2 separate regions of the Homo sapiens genome follow, and region 2 is linked to region 1. Evidence: promoter capture Hi-C in human tissues and cell types (Jung and others, 2019). All regions are on one chromosome and are shown on one strand. The core of a region is centred on a gene start or on the middle of the fragment in contact, and the rest is flanking DNA. Distances in the headings are between cores, read along the strand shown.

Evidence for each region. The method cuts DNA at HindIII sites, captures the fragments that hold promoters and counts their contacts. A contact is called where the count stands out against the background at its distance.
Region 2: a fragment that was not itself captured here is called in contact with the fragment with the promoter of PXDNL in region 1 in 2 of the 25 tissues and cell types used here (H1 embryonic stem cells and mesendoderm cells).

Annotation. Positions count from the first base shown.
Region 1 is chr8:51,804,324-51,810,743 of GRCh38, reverse strand. It overlaps PXDNL (peroxidasin like), which reads left to right and starts at 1,299. Exons shown (of 23, transcript NM_144651.5): 1 at 1,299-1,563. The coding sequence starts at 1,400. RefSeq lists enhancers at 882-1,403, 1,404-1,926. The HindIII fragment of the contact is 3,040 bases long and covers 446-3,485 here.
Region 2 is chr8:51,629,453-51,635,791 of GRCh38, reverse strand. The region is part of intron 2 of PXDNL (peroxidasin like); the gene reads left to right. Among named protein-coding and RNA genes, the nearest start is that of PXDNL, 180 kb to the left of the region's middle. The HindIII fragment of the contact is 3,424 bases long and covers 279-3,702 here.

The DNA of each region.
Region 1 (6,420 bases), core at 50-2,549:
TTTGAACTGCAAACAAGGCACAAACCTGCAGGTCTTGTCTATGTCCTCCAAATCACAGGCACTGCCAAGAGCATAGTGATTGTTGGGATTTAAAGGAATAAATTTCGTTTTTTGGCTTTATTGGTATACTTGGACAATAAAAGTCATGTGAACAATGTCAAATGTAAAGTTTAAAATAAATCATTCTTGTTCATGGAGATTAGTTTTGTTTTTTAGATCTTTTTACATTTTAATCTCCCCAAAATCACATATTTAGATATGAACATTTTGCCAAAAGAGGGCAGTATTCGCCTACAGTAGAATGTAAAGGGACTGAAACATTTCTGCAGAGACAAGGATGAACTTATTTTCCTCTTAAGATTGGTCTACTAGTCTGATCATCTGGGATTGACCATGCAAGTTTTAATTTGTTTTCTATTACTTTTATGGATTTAAAACATTTTTGTTTGAAAATGTTAGTCTTTAAAGATAAAGCCAAAAATCTGTTTAAAAATACCTGCTTACAGAATGACCAAAAAGTAGATGTTTTCATATTTATTAAGTTTTCAGACACGTCCTCAACGAGGTGCTGCTCACTTCAGGGAAAGATGGCCAGTTCAAACTGCTGATGAAAAGTCTGCAACCAGCAAGACCACTGCTGCCAGTGTGTCCTGAGGGAGCTTGCATCTGTTTGACTTTACATATACATACTTAGGTTTGTCCATCAGTTGTATCCTCTTGAAGGAGGTATGTGAGTTCATGGTTTTAAGCATATAAATTTAAACGTTAAAAGAAGAAATCAGAAGTAGCCCGTTTGAGTCTTACATGAGTGAAATGTGTTGGGTTTCAGCAGCAGAATATATAGAAGGAAATGAAACAATTTTTATTAAAGAGCATAGTTTGGAATAAAGAAAGAATATGTGCACCTAGATGAACGAATTAGAACTCTGCCTGCCCTTTAGGGTTTGGTAATGTTACCAGATAAAAAAGAAGAAAAGCTGTTCTGCATTGTTTCAATACATTCTTAATCAACTTGGGCTTCAAGAGGACAGCTGGAGGCTAAGAGGTCGGGTTTTTCATCAAATGCGCAGTGGAAGTAATTTTGGAAAAGTTTGTTTGCATTATGCTGCCTAAAACACGGTGTTTTAGAAAGAGGCTTTTGCATTGAAAAGCTTCTCGTCCTCGCCTCTGGGAGTCTAGTGCTTCCTAGAGCTGCTTGTGCCCTCAGCCCTGTAATGTGATATCCCTCCTCCTGGATTGGTCAGAGGGGTGTCCTTTCCCTGGGAGCTGCTTTCCACCACGGCTCCCAAACTTGGCTCAGTCCAGCAGCCACCATCACCACCACTGCGGTTGCTGCTGCAGCTGCAGCTGCTGCTCTCCCTCCGGCTGCTTCTTCGCGTGGCCAGCAGCGAATGGAGCGATGGAGCCCAGACTGTTCTGCTGGACCACTCTCTTTCTCCTGGCCGGGTGGTGCCTGCCAGGGTTGCCCTGCCCCAGCCGGTGCCTTTGCTTTAAGAGCACCGTCCGCTGCATGCACTTGATGCTGGACCACATTCCTCAGGTACCACAGCAGACCACAGTTCTGTAAGTTCACATAAATTCCCCAGAAACCCTCTTCCCCAATGCTTCATTGCTTCTCTGCTAGGACCTGTGTCCTTTTAATTTACGATTCCTAATGCTCTCCCTGCTTGTATACTTAGAAGAGGCTTTTCACTTTTCAAACAATTTCATGGTTCTGCTCTGTTAGACTAGAAAATGTAAGCAATGATGAGTTGACATAAATATATTTGTTTTGGATTCAGTTCTCTTCCAGCATCTTCCAGAACTTAGCATTGAGAATTCTCGTCTTCATTCTTCCTTCAATAATTTTCCTGCATACTTTCTCAATTTATTCCTATTCATCCTCTACTCCCAAGTCTTTGGGCCTCTTAATTGGTCAGCACGTGTCTGCCCCATTTGGAAGGAACTAATTTAACTTTAGAGTGTGGTTTCAATTGATTATGTGCTGACAAATTGTTAGGCTTTGTACTGTGTGTACCTCCTGGGAGGGTGAAGTCCTGAGCCCTCAGCACTTGAAGCACTGTCTGTCTCCAGAACAGACCCTCAAATGGTCCAGTAGAGTTCTTGAATGCTTAAAAGCCTTGTGGAGCAGCCGCTTAGACTAATCGGCATCTAGGAGGCATTACGGGATAGTAGGGCAAACCAGAATTTGGAAGTCAAACAGGTCTGAGTTCAAATCCTATCTTCTCATCTTTAATATTCAGATAATAAACCCAAACATTTAGATTTATTTAGATTAAATTAAGTCATAATTAGATAATTAGAAGGGCAAATCACCACAAAAGAAGAAAAGGATCTGTTTCTAGGGTCTATTTTTAAAGAAAGAAAAAGACGACAAATTCAAAAATTTAAGAAAAAATAAAAGAAGAAAAGGAAAAATGCTGAAAGATGCAGACTAAAGAGGTTTCCTGCTCTATAATAAATATTTTGTGGGTTGTGTCATGTTCATGGAAGACAAAACTGCTTGCAGTGTTTCAAGTCCATTCTTGGGCAGAGGGAAATAGCTTAAAATTCCTGGAATTTTGAGATATAAATGTTTAAGAGGATCATTGCCACACATTTGTCAGTCATAATCGTGAAATGAGGACTTGGTAATAAAAAGTCCAATTTGATGGTATTTACATAGAAAATGACATATTATCCATAGATTTTCATTTCTATAAAGCATTTCATTAATTTTATATGCATGCAGATATCAAAATACGTCTTACTGTAATAACTGAAAGGATTCTTGAACTTGGGAGCACTGCTTATTGCTATGTGGACAGCACAGTTCTGCAAGTGCCTTCAGACTCAGAACCAGCCATTTGTCCTTTTGTAATGACAGTTTTTTGGTAGATAGCAGCAAAGCCTTGGAGAAGGGGCTGCTTGTCTAATGAAGTATCTTGGAGCTACATGAGGTACAACTCGACCTAAATTTTGTTTCCTAGGTGTTTCAAAGAAGAGATTAGCTTGCATTAGACACACACCTCTAAATGTAATGAGCAGAACTGAAGTGATGTTGTCAGTGTTGTCATGCAGAGCCTTCCACTATGTTTAAAAATAAAGCTTAATGGTGGATTCTCAGGCCCTTGGCTAGATTCCTGTCTGGGAGTCTGGTGCCACCACTTACAAAATGTGTTGCCTTGGACAAATTCTTAACTTCTTGGTGTCACAGTTTCCTAATCTGTAAAAATGGAGATGCTAACAGTGTTTGATATGGTTTGGATCTGTGTCCCCACCCAAATCTCATGTTCAATTGTAACTCCCAATGTTGGAGGTGGGGTGCAGTGGGAGGTGATTGGATAGTGGGGGCGGATTCTCATGGTTTAACACCACCTCCCTTGGTGTTGTCATGGCGAGAGTGAGGTATCACAAGATCAGGTTGTTTAAAAGTATATAGCTCTTCTTGCGTCTCTCTTCCTCTTGCTCTGGCCATGTGAAGTTCTCACTCCCCCTTTGCCTTCTGCGATGATTGTAAGTTTCCTGAGGCCTCCCCAGAAGCCAAGCAAAAGTTGCTGTACTTCTTGTACAGCCTGCAGAACCATGAACCAATTAAACCTCTTTTCTTTGTAAATTACCCAGTTTCAGGTATTTCTTTATCACAGTGTGTGAAAACAGACTGATGCACTCTTCACCCTATTGGTTATCTTGAAGATTTAATGAATTAATGCATTTTAAGTACCTAGAAAATTGCTTAGCTCTAGTAAACACTATGGAAGTTTTCACTATTAGTATCATGTTTGCAATTCAGGACAGGAATTACAAACCTAAATATCTCTGGGAACCTGCCAGTAAACAATTTGAGGGAAGTGGGGTAGATGAAAGGCAGACTACTGTGTGATGAATAGCAACTAGCCTGAAGCTTGGAGTGTGTGGGGATGGTAATGAAGGCAGAGGCAGCTCTTGCTAATGGGGCAGCCAGTTACTTAGCTAATTGATGGCCTTTGGGGATTTGGGCCATAGTTTCAAGAAAATATGGAAGCCAAAAGTGACATTCCCTAGCTTTTCAATATTAGCAGCTAATTACATTTTTAGAAATGGAAAGGCAAAAATATACAAGCCCAACCATGCATATTTGTAGGTTGCTTTTTGCCTAGGACCTTCAGTTTGTGACTTCTAGTAGAGAAATGGTATAAAAGCTGAGAAGTATATGTAAAGCCTGTAAAAATTGCTCCTCTACTCCTCTGGGGCTAAAAATCCTTGATGTAGGATTGCATTTTATGTCAGCAATATCATGAAAGATGACAATAACAATTATGGGAAAAAGCCAATTAGTTTTTGAAAACTAAGGCAAATGGAAGCTGAATGAATTTCTCCCCAGCAGCAGAACCAATAGTTTTTGTTAAACCGCCCTTATGTATGTTTATTGTCATTATAACATGGAAATGATGTAAATAATATATTTAGCTCTGCAAATGGCCAACATGCTTAGTAAATGCTTATTAGTAGTAGTGTTAAAATTTCCTTAATTTTTTCCATTTTTACATGTTTTAAAATTTTAGCCTGAATGCAGAAAATATTTTCCTAAATCATAGATAAGAAAACTGTATTATTTTTAAGATTGGTTACAGTTGATCAGGGTTTTAAGTTTAGAAAAATGCAAAACTGTCCCTCCAAATTTTAATTTCATTCTGACTATAAAGATATTGTGTTTCTAAACTAATATCATTTACCAAAAAGCCTGCTGCCATTGAGAAAATCTCACTCTTTGTGCCGTGGATTTTAGTAAAACAAATCTTTCAGAATTAGAATTTGCAAACAAAAAAATGTCCAGTAATGAACACAGCATCTTTAGGGAGCCTGTTCAGTAATCAGAAGCAGTGTATGGTGAGTGTGATTTGACTCCATCCTATTCCAGGGTCATTAGGTTGTACTTTCCTAATTTCCTTAGTTACTGGTTAAGAAATGGACTCAGTGACTGCAAATTGAACATGCTCTAAAAACCACCTTGATTAGAAAAAGTTTTAAGCTTAGGGCTGTTTTAATGATCGAGGATTTTCCTAAAAGTCATAAATACAAAAGTATTTACAATGTGAAATTCTAAACATTTAATTTAAAGACATTTTCTTTATGTGGAAAGCTTTCTTTGCTGTCCAAATAATAGAAAACTTGAGGAACAAGATGGGGGTGGGGAAATGGAAAATGTCTTATGCTCAGTCATGAAAAAGTGTGTCCAGCTGATAAAAAATTTCACCTTGTTCAAGAAGAAAATAGAATTCCTTCAGCTCTTCCAATTTCCATTCATTTTATATATATATAATATATATATCATTTTGTATATATACATAAAATGATGTGTTATGGAATAATAGGGAGTAGCTGCAATCTGAGGCAGCAAACATAATTTTATAATTTAAATTATATATAAAGTTTTATATATAAAATTGTATAATTTAAAATATATATATGTATATATAAAATACAACTTAATAGGGCTTACTTTTACCTTTGTTACAAAATTTTTTGTAGCTTGTTTGTAACCGACATAACTTACTGGCTTTGAATGACCACTTGGCAGTAATGAACAGGCCTGAACTTTTTGGACCTTCCCCCACCTGGCATTGTTGAGGGGAAGCACAGTGGGACCCAGATGAAGTGTGTCAACATTCAAACTTCCCCCAGTGGTTGACTTGTTGGGGAGAGAAATGAAACTGAAAGTGGGCTGTCACTGACCTCCTGACTCAGGCCAGTGTGGTTCTGTGGAGAGGGGCTGGAAGAGGCTGTTCTGGAAGGAAGGGCAGGTGAGTGTGGATGGAGCCCAAGCAGGAGAATGGACATAGGGACAATGTGGAGGTGACAGCTTGAGGAGGTAGAGGAGTAAAGGCCAGCACCACTGGCTGGGGTATAATGTACCCTGGAGACTTGGGAGTCATCCTTCAAGAAACAAATGGACAGACAAATTGTTTTAGAAGGTCAGTGGAGCCAGGATATCCTACAACAGCCTGTACTTAGATGGTATATGCTGATTAAAGTATTAGAACAGTGTTCCCTACACTAAGTGCTGCCTTTCAACCCTACTGTAGATTCTATAAATGAAGTGAAGGGATGTGTTATGGAATAGTAGCTTTGTGGGGAGTAGCCGCAACCTGAGGCAGCAAAGCTGTGGTCCCTGTGCTAGTTGGAGAGCTACTGCACATGGGAAAAGTTGAATGACAGTACAAGTCTGGTGTTAGAAGGACCAATTCTGCTTCTGTATTTATGGAGTAAAAAGGGATGGTGAATGTCCTCGTTTGTCAACTAGATGGGCAACAAAGACAGTGAAATGAGTGAAAAAGAGGAGAAAAAAAATTGAATCATGGAGAGTGTGAAAGCAAAATAAATCTTGGGTCCCCAAAAATCACTAAGCTAAAGGGAAAGGTCAAGCTAGGAACTGCTTAGGGCCAACCTTCCTCCCGTTCT
Region 2 (6,339 bases), core at 741-3,240, 180 kb after region 1:
GTATTAATTCTTTAAATATTTGATAAAATTTACGAGTGAAACTATCTGGTCTTGAGGTTTTCTTTGTTGTGAGGTTTTTGATTATTGATTCAATCTCTTAAAAAGTACTTCGCCCCCCACTCAGATTTTCTGCTTTTTTTGAGACAGTTTTTGTAATTTGTCTATTTCTAATAATTTCTCTATTTTATTTAGGTTATCTAATTTGTTGGTGTACAATTTTAATAGTACTCTCATATTTTATTTATCTCTTTTAATAAAGTCAGTAGTATTGTCTTCACTTTTTATTTTTCTTGCTTTCATGGTTAGCCTAGCTAAAGTTTTTAAAATTGTATTGATCTTTTCAAAGAACCAACTTTTGGTTTCATTGACTCTATTTATTGTTTTTCTCTTCTCTGTTTCATTTATCTCCACTCTAATCTTAATTTTCTTCCTTCTGGTTGCTTTGCATTTAGCTTGCTTTTCTGTTTCTAACTCCTTCAGATGTAAAGTTAGGTTATCCATTTGAGATCTTCTACTTTTTGAAAATGTAGGCCTTTACAGTTATAAATTTCTCTCTCAGCACTGCTTTCACTGCATCCCGTAAGTTTTGGTATATAGTATTTTTGTTTTCGTTTGTCCTAAGTATTTTTAAATTTCCCTCATGATTTCTTCTCTGACCCACTTGTCATTTAAAGAGTGTGTTGTCATCTGACATCATACTGGATGGGCAAAAGCTGGAAGCATTCCCCTTAAAAACTAGAAGAAGACAGGATACCTACTCTCACCACCCCTATTCAACATAGTACTGAAAGTCCTATTCAGAGAAATCAGACTAGAGAAAGAAATAAAAGACTTCCAAATAGGAAAAGAAGAAGTCAAATTATCTGTCTTCACTGACAATATGATTCTGTACCTACAAAACCCTAAAGATTCCACCAAAAGGCTCCCAGAACTGATAAGTGACTTCAGTAAGGTTTCACAGTACAAAGTCAATGTACAGAAATCAATATCATTTCTATACACTAATAATGTTCAAACCGGGAGCCATATCAAGAGTGCAATCCCATTTTCAATAGCCACAAAAAAATAAAATATGTAGGAATACATCTAACCAAAGAGGTGAAAGAGCTCTATAAGGAAAAGTACAAAACACTGCTGAAAGAAATCATAGATGTCACAAACAAATGGAAAAACAGTCCATGCTCATGGATTGGAAGAATAAACATTATTAAAATGGCCACACTGCCCAAAGAATCTACAGATTCAGCACTGTTCCTATCAAACTACGGATGTCATTTTTCACAGAATTGTAAAAAACTATTCTAAAATTAATACGGAACCAAATGACAGCCAAATAGCCAAAGAAGTCTTAAGCAAAAAGAGCAAAGCCAGAGGCATCACATAACCCAACTTCAAACTATATTATGAGGCTATAGTAACCAAAACAGCATGGTACTGATTCAAAAACAGACATATAAACCAATGGAACAGAATAGAGAACCCAGAAAGAAAGCTTCACACCTACAGCCAACTGATCTTTGAAAAAGCCAACAACAAAAATAAACAATGGGGAAAAGACTCCCTATTCAATAAATGGTGCTGCGATAACTGGCTAGCCATATGCAGAAGAAGGATACTGGATCCCTACATTTCACTGTATAAAAAAATTAGCTCAAATTGCACTAAAGATACAGATATAAGATCACAAACTCTAAAAATCCTAGAAAACCTAGGAAATACCATTCTGGATGCTGGACTTGGGAAATAATTTATGACTAAGTCCTCAAAAGCAATTGCAACAAAAACAAAAATTGACAAGCAGGACCTGATTAAACTATAGAGCTCCTCCATAACAAAAGAAACTATCAACAGAATAAATAGGCTATAGGATAGAAGGAAATATTTACAAACTGTGCATCCAATAACAGTCTAGTATTCAGAATGTATAAGGAACTTAAACAATTAAAGAAGCCAAAAACACATAACCCCATCAAAAAGTGAACAAAGAACATGAACAGACACTTCTCAAAGAAAGACATACAAGCGGCCAACAAACATATGAAAAAATGCTCCACGTCACTAATCATCTGAGAAATGCAAATTGAAACCACAGTAAAACACTATTTCACACCTGTCAGAATGGCTATTCTTCTTCTTCTTTTTAGAGATGGGGTCTTGCTCTGTCACACAGGCTAGAATGCAGTGACATGACCATAGCTCACTGCAGATAATGGCTATTATTAAGAAGTTAAAAAACAACAGATGCTGGTAAGGCTGCAGAGAAAGGAGAACACATATATGCTGTTGGTGGGAATGTAAATTAGTTCAGTCTCTGTGGAAAGCAGGTTGGAGATTTCTCAAAGAACTTAAACTACCATTCGACCCAGCAATCTCATTGCAGGGTATATACCCAAAGGAAAAACAACTGTACTACCAAAAAGACACATGCATTCATATGTTCATTATAGCACTCTCACGATAACAAAGACAGAATCAACCTAGGTGCCTATCAACAGTGGATTGGATACAGAAAATGTGGTACACATACACCATGGACTACTATGCATCCACAAAAGAGAATGAAATCATGTCCTTTGCAGTAACGTGGATGCAGCTGGAGCTCATTATCCTAAGCACATTAATGCAGAAACAGAAAAACCAAATACCATGTGTTCTCACTTGTAAGTGTGAGCTAAACATTGGGTACATATGGACATAAATATGGGAACAAATTGACACGGGGGGTATTAGAATGGTGAGAGAGGGAAGGGTGCAAGGACTGAAAAGCTACATATTGTGTAATGCGATCACTATCTGTATGACAGGATCATTTATACTCCAAAACTCAGCATCACCCAGTATACCCATGTAACAAACCTACACATGTACCCCCTGAATCTAAAATAACAGAAAATCTAAAATTACAGAAAACAAAACAAAACAAAAAACAAAAGGGTATATAGTTTAATTGCCACATATTTATGAATTTTCCAGTTTTACTTCTGTTACTGATTTCTAAATTCATTCTATTTGGTTAGGGAAGATATTTTGTATTATTTCAATCTATTAAAGCTTATTAATACTTTGGACTTACTTATGGTTTGATATGTGGTCCATCTTAAACGTTCCATAAGTACTTGAAAAAATGTTTATTCTATAACTGCATCGTGGTGTAAATATTTTTATTTTTTAAATACTTTATTGATTGATTGATTGATTGAGATAGGGTCTCATTCTGTTGCCCAGGCAGTAATGCAATCATAGTTCACTGCAGCCTTGAACTCTTGGCTCACATGATCCTCCCACCTTAGCCTCCTGAGTAGCTGGGACTACAGGCATGTGCCACCATGCCTGGCTCATTTTTCTTTACATTTTGTAGAGACAAGATTTTGCCATGTTGACCAGGGTAGTCTTGAACTCCTGGGCTCAAGTGATCTGCCTGCCTCAGCTTCCCAAAGTGCTGGGATTACAGGCATGAGCCACCCCACCCTGCCTGTTGTGGTGTAAATAATATAGCCTGTTAGATGTAGTTGATTTACAGTGCTTTTCAAGTCCTCTATATTGTTATTTATCTTCTGTCTACATGTTCTATCCATTATTAAAAGTAGGGTATTGGAGTCTCCAACTATTACTGTAGAACTATCACTTTCTCTCTTCAGTGGTCCTTTTTTCTTCATATAATTTGGGGCCCTGTTGTTTGTTGTTTTGGAGTCATAGCCAAAAAAATTATTTGCATCATGTTTTAAAAGTCATTCTGCTGCTCTCTGCCTTTTGATTGGAGAACTCAATCTATTTATATTAAAAATAATTACTGGTAAGAAAGGACTTACTTCTGTCATTTTCCTGTTTTCTGTATGTTTTATACCTTTCCTGTTCTTCTTCTCCTCCATTACTACCTTCTTTTGCATTTAATTAATTTTTTATTTTACTATTTTGATTCTGATCCCATTTCCTTGAGAAATGAGACACGAGGTAATTGATATCAACTTAGCTTCAATAGCATAAACTCTGCCCTATACAATCTGTACCTCCACTGTTATGTTGTTACTATTACATATTACATCTTTATTATGGTGTGCCTGTGAACATAAATTTATAGCTATTATTTTATGTATTTACATTTTAGATCATATGGGAAATCAAAAGAAGACTTAAACCCTGAAATTTAATAATTGTGTCCTTTATAATTACCTATATAGTTATCTCTACTGGATATTTTCACTTCTCTGTATTGTTTAGAGCTGTTATTTAGTGTCCTTTCATGTCAGCTCAAAAGATTCCCTCTAAAATTTCTTGTAGGATAGGTCCACTAACAATAAAATCTCTTAGCTCTTGTTTATCTGGAAATGTCTTAATATCTTCATTTTTAAAAAGCTTTTATTTTAGGTTGAGGGGTACATGTGCAGCTTTGTAATACAGGTAAATTGCATGTCATGGGGGTTTGGTGTACAGATTATTTCATTACCCAGCTAATGAGCATCATACCCAATAGGTAGTTTCTCAATTTTTTTCCCTCCTCCCATTCCTCACCCTAAGTAGGCTCTGGTGTCTGTTGTTCTCTTCTTTGTGTCCATGTGTTCTCATTGTTTAGCTTCCACTTATAAGTAAGAACATGTGGTATTTGGTTTTCTGTTCCTGCATTAGTTTACTAAGGATAATGTCCTCCAACTCCATCCATATTGCTGTAAAGAACATGATCTCATTCTTTTTAATGGTTGCACGGTATTCCATGGTGTATATATACTACATTTTCTTTATCCAGTTTACCGTTGATGGCCTTTTAAGTTGATTCTGTGTCTTCGTTGTTATGAATAGTGCTGTGATGAACATAAGTATGCATGTGTCTTTATGACAGAACAATTTATATTTCTTTGGGTATATACCCAACAAAGAGGTTGGTAGGTCGAATGGTAATACTGCTTTAAGTTCTTTGAGAAATAGCCACACTGCTTTCCCCAATGGCTGAACTAATTTATGTTCTCACCAGCAGTGTATAAGCATTCCCTTTTCTCTACAACCTTGCCAGCATCTGTTATTTTTGACTCTTAGATAATAACTATTCTGACTGTTATGAGACAGTATCTCATTGTGGGTTTGATTTACATTTCTCTAATGATTAGTGATGTTGAGCATTTTTTCATATGCTTGTTGGCTGTGCGTATGACTTTTTTGAAAAGTGTTTATGTCCCTTGCCTACTTTTTAACGGGGTTGTTTGTGGTTTGCTTGGTGATTTCTTTACATTCCTTATAGATTCTGGATATTAGACCTTTGTTGGATGCATAGTTTGCAAATATTTTCTCCCGTTTTGTAGGCTGTCTGTTTACTCTGTTGATACTTTATTTTGCTGCGTAGAAGCTCTTTAGTTTAATTAGGTCACATTTGTCACTTTTTGTTTGTGTTGCAATTGCTTTTGGCATCTTTGTCATAAAATCTTTGCCAAGGCCTATGTCCAGAATCATATTTTCTAGGTTATCTTACAAGGTTTTTATAGTTTTACATGTTACATTTCAGTGTTCAATCCATCTTGAATTTATTTTTATATATGGTGTAAGGAAGGCATCCAGTTTTAATCTTCTGCATATGGCTAGCCAGTTATCCCAGCATTATTTATTGAATAGGAAGTAATTTCCCACTGCTTGTTTTTGTCAATTTTGTCTAAGATCAATTGATTGTAAGTGTGTGGCATTATTTTTGGACTCTATTCTTTTCCATTGGTCTATGTGTTTGTTTTTGTACCAGTACCATGTTGTTTTGATTACTATAGCCTTGTATTATAGTTTGAAGTTGGATAATGTAATGCCTCCAGTTTTATTCTTTTTGCTTCGGATTGCCTTGGCTATATGGGTTTTTTTTTGGTTCCATATTAATTGTAAAATAGATTTTTCTAATTCTTTGAAAAATGTCATTTGTAGTTTGCTACGAATAGCATTGAATCTGCAAATTGCTTTGGGCAGTATGCCATCTTATTATTCATTTTCGAGGGATACATTTGCTAGATATAAAAGACTTTTGTTGACAGTTTTAAAAATTTTCAGCACTTTAAAATGTCATTCTGTTTCCTTCATGTCTGCATGGTTTCTGATGATAAATCTGCTGTTAATCTTACTGTGGGTCGCTTGTACATGACAAGTTGCTTCTCTCTTAGTGCTTTAAACATGCTCTTGTTTTTGGCTATCAAAATGTGATAATAATTTGTCTCTCTGCGGATCTTTTGCATTTATCTTTCTTGGAACTCACTGAACTTCTTGGATGTTCAGATTCTTATCTTTTATCAAATTTGGAAAGGTTTTGTCTACTATTTCTTGAAGTATTCTTTATTTTCCTTTTTCTCTCTCTCTTTTCTTGGGATTTCTCATTTA